Linked DNA regions of Homo sapiens: all the other regions are linked to region 3. Evidence: promoter capture Hi-C in human tissues and cell types (Jung and others, 2019). All regions are on one chromosome and are shown on one strand. Each heading gives the region's core, a stretch centred on a gene start or on the middle of the fragment in contact. The rest is flanking DNA. Distances are from core to core; before and after follow the strand shown. Region 1 has its middle 65 kb from the start of LINC01621. Region 2 has its middle 56 kb from the start of HTR1B. Region 3 holds the start of IRAK1BP1 (interleukin 1 receptor associated kinase 1 binding protein 1).

What was found. Contacts are between HindIII fragments. The study calls those that stand out against the background at their distance.
Region 1: a contact is called between a fragment that was not itself captured here and the fragment with the promoter of IRAK1BP1 in region 3, in 1 of the 25 tissues and cell types used here (dorsolateral prefrontal cortex).
Region 2: a fragment that was not itself captured here is called in contact with the fragment with the promoter of IRAK1BP1 in region 3 in 1 of the 25 tissues and cell types used here (dorsolateral prefrontal cortex).

What each region holds. Positions count from the first base shown.
Region 1 is chr6:79,876,019-79,878,718 of GRCh38, forward strand. No RefSeq gene overlaps it. Among named protein-coding and RNA genes, the nearest start is that of LINC01621, 65 kb to the left of the region's middle. The HindIII fragment of the contact is 7,172 bases long and covers 1-2,700 here.
Region 2 is chr6:77,517,723-77,520,422 of GRCh38, forward strand. No RefSeq gene overlaps it. Among named protein-coding and RNA genes, the nearest start is that of HTR1B, 56 kb to the left of the region's middle. The HindIII fragment of the contact is 3,192 bases long and covers 1-2,700 here.
Region 3 is chr6:78,866,116-78,868,815 of GRCh38, forward strand. IRAK1BP1 (interleukin 1 receptor associated kinase 1 binding protein 1) reads left to right here and starts at 1,436. Exons shown (of 4, transcript NM_001010844.4): 1 at 1,436-1,776. The coding sequence starts at 1,462. It overlaps LOC107986613 (a long non-coding RNA gene), which reads right to left and starts at 1,375. Exons shown (of 2, transcript XR_001744210.2): 1 at 1,273-1,375. RefSeq lists enhancers at 1,331-1,440, 1,471-1,790, 1,623-2,223. The HindIII fragment of the contact is 12,955 bases long and covers 1-2,700 here.

The DNA.
Region 1 (2,700 bases), core at 111-2,610, 1.0 Mb after region 3:
TATATATATATAATTTGTAATACAACAACTAGCACCAGAAACCAAAATGTCTTTTCCCCAGTAAAAGGAGTGGTGGTGTCATTTAAATTTCCTTGTAGATTAGTCTTTTCTCTGCAAGCATTTCTGCACATATTGGTCACACAAATAAATGATTCATTTGCAGTTTTGATAGCTTTGATAGTTAAATACCTTTGAGGATACTACTTATACTAATAAAAACATTCTTATGGTGCACAATGGAAGCCTTATTAATAGGTGAGGAGGAGAGCCTTTTGGGTGTGGACAACTCTATTGCCAGCACAATCTAGAGTCAGGTCAAGGGGAAAGGATACAGAGTCAGGTCAAGAGGAAAGAATACAGAGGAGAGAAGAAAAAAGAAGAAAAAAAATCTTTGTTTTAGAAACTCATAGCCAGAAAAGGAAATCTGAAACAATGCTTTTTAATTCATACTTCCCTGGAAGAAAAGAAGACACTAAAATAACAGAGGAGCTAGCCTAGAGAGAGCACACAGGATAGGCATGCTATCTAAATTAACTCATTTAATCCTCACAAAAATGATCTAATGTCAGTACTATTATTTTGGAAATTTAGAAGCAGAGACAAATGGAGGTTAAAAATCCCCATCTCCAAAGGAGCATAACAGTATTTTTGCTACCTGGAAAGAAAGGCAATGGTTTTCCTATATATGTCAGGGAGTAACTGGGCTTCTTTTCCTTTGGATAGCAAAGAGCACTTAGACATCAGACACCTCCAGGATGGGCCCCTTTTGAGAGTAAGCTCTGAGGCACCATGCAGATCTCGGGGTCCAAAGCAGAGCACACAATCATCTGGAAAGACCTGGTGCTCATTGAGGAAGGAGGGAAAATGATATCACATCCCCGCCTTAGACATGGAAGAGTTGTGAAATGAGGGTAAAGGGACCATCCAGAAAAGAAGATAAGGAAGAAGCTAGGACACAGCCAGCCAATTCTGCCCACATGCCAGTGAAGTGGAGAAACTGATGCTGTTTATGCTTGTTGAGAGTTCCCATGGTTTTGCAGGAACCAACCCAATGTTTTCTGTGCTTTTTCACCTACTTTCTTATAGTCTATAAGAAAACCTACTACAAAAAACTCCTGCAGGAAGAAAAGAGTTTGTGTGTTTGCGTTGGAAACAGCAGGCTGGAAAAAAACTTGAGGAATTCCAAAGGACCCTAGGAAAAGGCATCCGAAAGGAAGCAACTTGTTGGTAGCTGGTAAAGGGGAGGTAAGGAGGCCTAAGAATGAAAGGAATAAATTATAAACCTGTTTTAAGAGTGAGAGTAGCTTAAGGCTTTAAGATTTATCTCCGGGGGGGAACTTGTTGCTTGACAGTAAGCAATTTCAGCATAATTAAAAGAAATCCTTTTTAGAGTTTATATTCCAGTCATACTAGGCGCAAGGCAAATTGTTAAATATGCTTCTACCCCTCATTTCAAACTTAGACATCCCCTTACCTTTCCACTGTAATAGACTTTCCAGGACTGTTTCAAAATTGAGGTACACACATATACACATGCATGTGCACACATGTATACACTAACATATTTGGACTATGCTATTTCAAACTCGTGGGAATGCCAGGTCACCAATTGTTTCTATTAGAATGGCCCTTGGTAATAAATGAATGACCCTGGTTCTCAGCCCAGTGTTAAATCTTAGTAAAAGATAATGAATAAGGACACAGTTTCCCCTAAGACCTTTATGCTTTTTGCATGATACTTGAACATTCTCATGCTCACATGTATAAAATCAATTTATTATTTAGCTAACTTTTGGTGGCAAGTGACAGAAAAGTTTGAAGTTAGGAAAGGGAATCATTGTATTACATAACTGGTATGGCCAGAGTGCAGTTGACTTCAGTCACAGTTTGATCCAAGACAATGTTAGCAAGATATTTTCTCTCTATTGCCATCTGACATGGTTTGAATGCTCCCTCCACATCTCATGTTGAAATTTAGTTGTCATTGTGATGGTATTAAGAGACGGGGCTGGGAGGCAGAGTAAGATGGTAGAATAGAAACCTGCAACATATGTACCCCCTGCAGGTATGCCAAATTTTCACAACTGTCTACACACAGAAAAGCACCATCACAAGAACCAAAAATCAGGTGAGCAATCACAGTACCTGGTTTTAACTTCATGTTGTTGACAGAGGCATTGAAAAGGGTTGAAGAGACAGCCTTGAGTTGCCGACATCATTCCTCCTCCAGCCCTGGCAGTGGCCGTGTAGCACAGAGTCTATGCACTTCGGAGAGAGAGAGAGTGCAGTGACTGGCGTACTTTACCCTGAACTCAGTGCTGACCTGTCATAGCAGAAAGCAAAGCCATGCTAGGTTCAGCCACTGACTGCACATGGAAGGTGCATTTGGAGCAGACCTAGTCAGAGGGGAATCACACATTCCATAAGTCAGAACTCAAATTTCTTGGCAAGCCTCACCACAGCAGGCCAGAGGGTTCTGGGGCTCTAGGTAAACTTGAAAGACAGTCTAGGACACAGGGACTGCAATTCCTAGGCAACTCCTAGTGCTGGGCTGGGCTTAGAGCCAGAGGACTGGGGTGGCATGTGACCTAGAGAGACACCAGCTGGAGTAGCTAAGGGAATGCTTGCGCCAGTCCTCCCTCAACCTGAGGCAAAACAGCTCACAGCAACAAATGTGTCTCCTTCCTTCTGCTTAAGGTG
Region 2 (2,700 bases), core at 197-2,696, 1.3 Mb before region 3:
TCAATTGAAGTGATAACTGCACACTCCAGAAGCTGTTTTCACCATCAGGCTTGGGATCTCATGCAAGCTCCCCAAAAGAGGCATTCAGTTCACATCCTGCCCTTTCTATAAATGATTTTATCTACTTCCATGGTATTACTGGCTGATGACCTTTAAACCAATGACATTGACCTTGTTTCAAGCACTAGTCTCCTATCAACAACTGCCTATGCAATCCTTCTCTCAGAATGTCCCCTGAGACTTAGAATTACCATGTCCCAATCCAATGAACTGATTATTTGCCCCCTACTCTCACCTTCCCCACCAACGCATCCTGCTTTTCTCTGTTAATAGCATCATCCATCCTCAGTTTATTCCAATAAGCTTGTACAAATATTTCTTAGGTGTTTATGTCCCAAGAACTGTTCTATGTACTTCATACAAAACCCTCAAGGCCCTTGGTCTAGAGGGATAAACAGAGAACAATTTATTTCAATAACATGACATGGATTCCCTGGCAAGATGGCCGAATAGGAACAGCTCCAGTCTGCAGCTCCCAGCGAGACCAATGCAGAAGGTGGGTGATTTCTGCATTTCCAACTGAGGTAACTGGTTCTTCTCACTGGGACTGGTTAGACAGTGGGTACAGACCACAGAGGGTGAGCAGAAGCAGGGTGGTGTGTCTCCTCACCCGGGAAGCACAAGGGGTCAGGGAACTCCTTCTCATAGCCAAGGGAAGCAGTGAGGGACTGTGCTGAAAGAGACAGTGCTATCTGGCCCAGATACTATGCTTTTCCCACTGTCTTCACAACCCACAGGCCAGGATATTCCCTTGGGTGCCTACATCACAATGGCCTTGGGTTTCAAGCAAAAACCTGGGCAGCTGTTTGGGCAGACACCGAGCTAGCTGCAGGAGTTTTTCTCATACCCCAGTGGCACCTGGAATGCCAGCAAGAGAGAACTATTCACTCCCCTGGAAAGGGGGCTGAAGCTAAGGAGACAAGTGGTCTTGTTCCATGGAGCCCACCCCTATGGAGCCCAGCAAGCTAACATCCACTGGCTTGAAATTCTCGCTGCCAGCGCAGCAGTCTGAAGTTAACCTGAAATGCTCAAGCTTGGTCGGGGGTTGTGGGGGTGTCTGCCATTATTGAGGCTTGAGTAGGCAGTTTTCCCCTCACAGTGTAAACAAAGCCACTTGGAAGTTTTGACTGAGCAGAGCCCACCACCACACCACAAAGTCATGGTAGCCGGACTGGCTCTCTAGATTCCTCCTTTCCGCGCAGGACATCTCTGAAAGAAAGGCAGCAGCCCCAGTCAGCAGCTTATAGACAAAACTTTCATCTCCCTGGGGATGAAAAAAGAGCACCTGGGGGAAGGGGCAGCTGTGGGTGCAGCTTCAGCAGACTTAAACGTTCCTGCCTGCCATCTCTGAAGAGAGCAGCAGATCTCCCAGCACAGTACTCGAGCTCAGCTAAGGGACAGACTGCCTCCTCAAGTTGGTCCCTGATCCCCGTACATCCTGACAGGAAAACACCTCCCAACAGGGGTCAACAATCACCTTATACAGGAAAGCTCTGGCTGGCATCTGGCAGGTGCCCCTCTGGGACAAAGCTTCCAGAGGAAGGAGCAAGCAGCAGTCTTTGCTGTTCTGCAGCCTTTGCTACAGCAGTAGCATCGACATCAACAAAAAGGAGACCATGCAAAAACTCCATCGAAAGGTCACCAACAGCAAAGACCAAAGGTAGATAAATCCATGAAGATGAGGAAAAACCAGCACAAAAAGGCTGAAAATTCCAGAAACCATAACACCTCTTCTCCTCCAAAGGATTATAAATCCTTACTGGCAAGGGAAGAAAACTGGATGGAGAATGAGTTTGATGAATTAACAGAAGTAGGCTTCAGAAAGTGGGTAATAACAGACTCCTCCGAGCAAAAGAGCATGCTCTAATCCAATGCAAGGAAGCTAAGAAACTTGATTAAAGGTTAGAGGAATTGCTAACTAGATTAACCAGTTTAGAGAAGAATATAAATGACCTGATGGAGCTGAAAAACTCAGCACAAGAACTTCATGAAGCATACACAAGTATCAATAGCCAAATCAATCAAGCAGAAGAAGAGCTATCAGAGACGGAAGATCAACTTAATGAAATAAAGTGTGAAGACAAGATTAGAGAAAAAAGAATGAAAGGAAACAAACAAAGCCTCCAAGAAATATGAGACTATGTAAAAAGACCAAACCTATGTTTGATTGATGTACCTCAAATTGATGGGGAGAATGGAACCAAGTTGGAAAACACACTTCAGGATATTATCCAGGAGAGCTTCCCTAACCTAGCAAGACAGGCCAACATTCAAATTCAGGAAATACAGAGAACACCACAAAGATACTCCTCGAGAAGAGCAACTCTAAGACACATAATCGTCAGATTCACCAAGGTTGAAATGAAGGAAAAAATGTTAAAGTCAACCAGAGAGAAGGGTCAGGTTACCCCCAAAGGGAAGCCCACCAGACTAACAGTGGATCTCTCTGCAGAAACCCTACAAGCCAGAAGAGAGTGGGGATCAATATTCAACATTCTTAAAGCAAAGAGTTTTCAACCCAGAATTCCATATCCAGCCAAACTAAACTTCATAAATGAAGGAGAAATAAAATCCTTTACAGACAAACAAATGCTGAGGATTTGGTCACCACCAGGCCTGCCTTAGAAGAGCTCTTGAAAA
Region 3 (2,700 bases), core at 186-2,685:
TTCACTCATTCAATAATTTATTTTGGAGGCTATATTCTTCCGCATTTATCGTAAGGGAAAAAGAATTTTTCACCAAGTTTAAGAAACATTATTTTGGGTGTCTTAAATAATAAAAGACTATGACGGAAAGTTCTTAACGTTAGTTTTTAAATTAAAATTGTTTTCAGCTAACAATAAACAAGATGGATATACACAAAATTATGTTAATCTAGTGATGAGCCTAATTAAAGGAGGGGGGTACCATTGATTTAGTTGAATTATACTAATCGAAAAGAACAGAAAAAACGATGGTGAAGAAACTACAAGAGGACTGTCAGCTTTTCAGGGTCCTTTTAAAAGAACAGTTCTTGTCCTTCTAGAACTAGTTATTCAAAATTCTTTTTTCCCCCCTCGATTCTCTTGATAAAATTCAGATAGTAAAGACGTATAAGTCAGTGGGGCTATTTTTACAAAGATCATTGCTTAGTGCTAGGAAGAGAATCCAGAAGACGGGAAGTTGAGGGTTGTGTTCTAAAAGTTCTCTGAAGAAAAGGGTACAGAGAAGCTCCAAGTTGTGCAGGCCCAGCAAACTCCATGTTGGACGTGCTTTGCTACCACCTAAATCTCTTCTGTCGGAATTCAAGGCCCGAACCATTCCAGGGATTTTAGAAAAAAATGGGGAGACACAAAAATGATGCCAAAGCCATAGCTATCATTACAAACATCCATTATGTTCACTCTGCTTTCCATATGCAACGCACTCTACATACAATGGGCGCCTTATAAGCACATAGCAAATGTGAAAAATATTATCAACATTGCTTTGATAATATTAATATATTATATATATTAGAATATATTATATATTAGAATATATTATATATATTAGAATATATTATATATTACTAATATAAAAAATATTATCAACCCTGCTTTAGAGAAGATGATACTGAGATATGAAGAATCATAAACTGTCCAAGATCACAGGGGCAAAAAGTTCACCTCAACTGAAACCTCTCACGAACCACAAAAATGTGGCCGAGGGAGCCTCAAAAAGCAGTACCCCAAGCGGGGACGGTAAAGTCAGAAAAGACAAGGCTGGGGGTAATCACAGAGAAATCTAAAAACCCGCTCGGCCTCGCTACTCTTCTCCTTCCTCTGAGGTGCAGAGGCGCGGTGGGACGACAAGGAGTTGCGAGAAAGGGCAGAGCTCACTGAGGAGGCAACAGAGAAAGTCCGCTAACAATTTTTGAAGGCCGTAAGTTAAACATGTTAAAAACTGTAGCTACTCACTCAGCCGACATCTAGTAAAAAAGATGCGGCAAGATCAACAAGGCATATAGCTTGCGCCCGCCAGAAGTTCCGCGGCCTCCACACCCATCCCGGCATACTTTGCGCCGTGCACAGGCAAGCCCTGGTGCGCATTGGCCCCTTCGGCCGCCGTCGGCCGGTAGTTACTATGGAAACCCAGCTGCCATCGCTATGTCTCTGCAAAAGACCCCTCCGACCCGAGTGTTCGTGGAACTGGTTCCCTGGGCTGACCGGAGCCGGGAGAACAACCTGGCCTCAGGGAGAGAGACGCTACCGGGCTTACGCCACCCCCTCTCCTCAACACAAGCCCAAACTGCTACCCGCGAGGTGCAAGTAAGCGGCACCTCAGAAGTGTCTGCGGGCCCTGACCGGGCGCAGGTGGTGGTGCGAGTGAGCAGCACCAAGGAGGCGGCAGCCGAGGCCAAAAAGAGCGTTTGTCGCCGTCTAGATTACATCACGCAGAGCCTCCAGCAGCAGGGCGTGCAGGTGAGATCTCCGCGGGGGAGGAAATAAGAGCCGGAAGACACAAAAGGGTTGGCAGATGGTCGGGCCCCACAGGCCCCCCTAGCGGGAAGGGAGATGTGGAGGGTCTGGAGCGTTTAGGACGCGTTTGTTGCAAAGGTACTCCGGGACGCCAGGACCTGGCAGAGTGAATATTTGACCCATTCTTCTCCTAGACGAAGGTAATTATTGGCCTCAGGCAAATTAAAAATAAAAGAATGCAAATTGGGTAGGTTTTTATCTGGGGATATTTGCTTCAGTGATTTTGTTTTTAAATTTAAAGTGATGAAATGTTAAAACTTGAAATGTTAGTTGTAAATACTTGCCCACGTGGAGTGCTGGACACTAAATATTTTGTTTTGTTTTGTTTTTATTCCGCACCATGGAATTGGCAAGTGAAGAGCACGACCTGCTTCCTTCCGATCATGTAAAACTTTGCATGGAATGGTTCTTGAGTATGTTCCGCAAACAGTAACGTTGGGAAGTGGGGAAGAAGTTGCGTCCATTTTCATTTTATAATGATTTTCATTTTATAGTGATTCCCCCAAAATTTCTTCGGCCTTCTTAGGTTTAACTTAAAAGAAAAAATCAAGCCAGTATTGTGGATACCACATATACGAAATACTTCTACTTACTTAACGGAGATGTCCATGAGACAAATCACTAAACAAATCTTACCTTAAGCCTACTCCTAAGGCAAGAAAAAAAATGAAGCCATCATTTAATCCACACAATAGCACTGTTAGGCATGTTTTAATATCCCTGTTTTCCAAATTTAAAGAGGTTAAACAATGCTCTGAACTTTAGGTAGAGCAATATTTGAACTCATGTATTCCTGAAACCAGAATGTAAGTTGCTTCCAATTCTGCCGATAATTAGAATGAAAGAAAATTAGAAATCATAGGGATC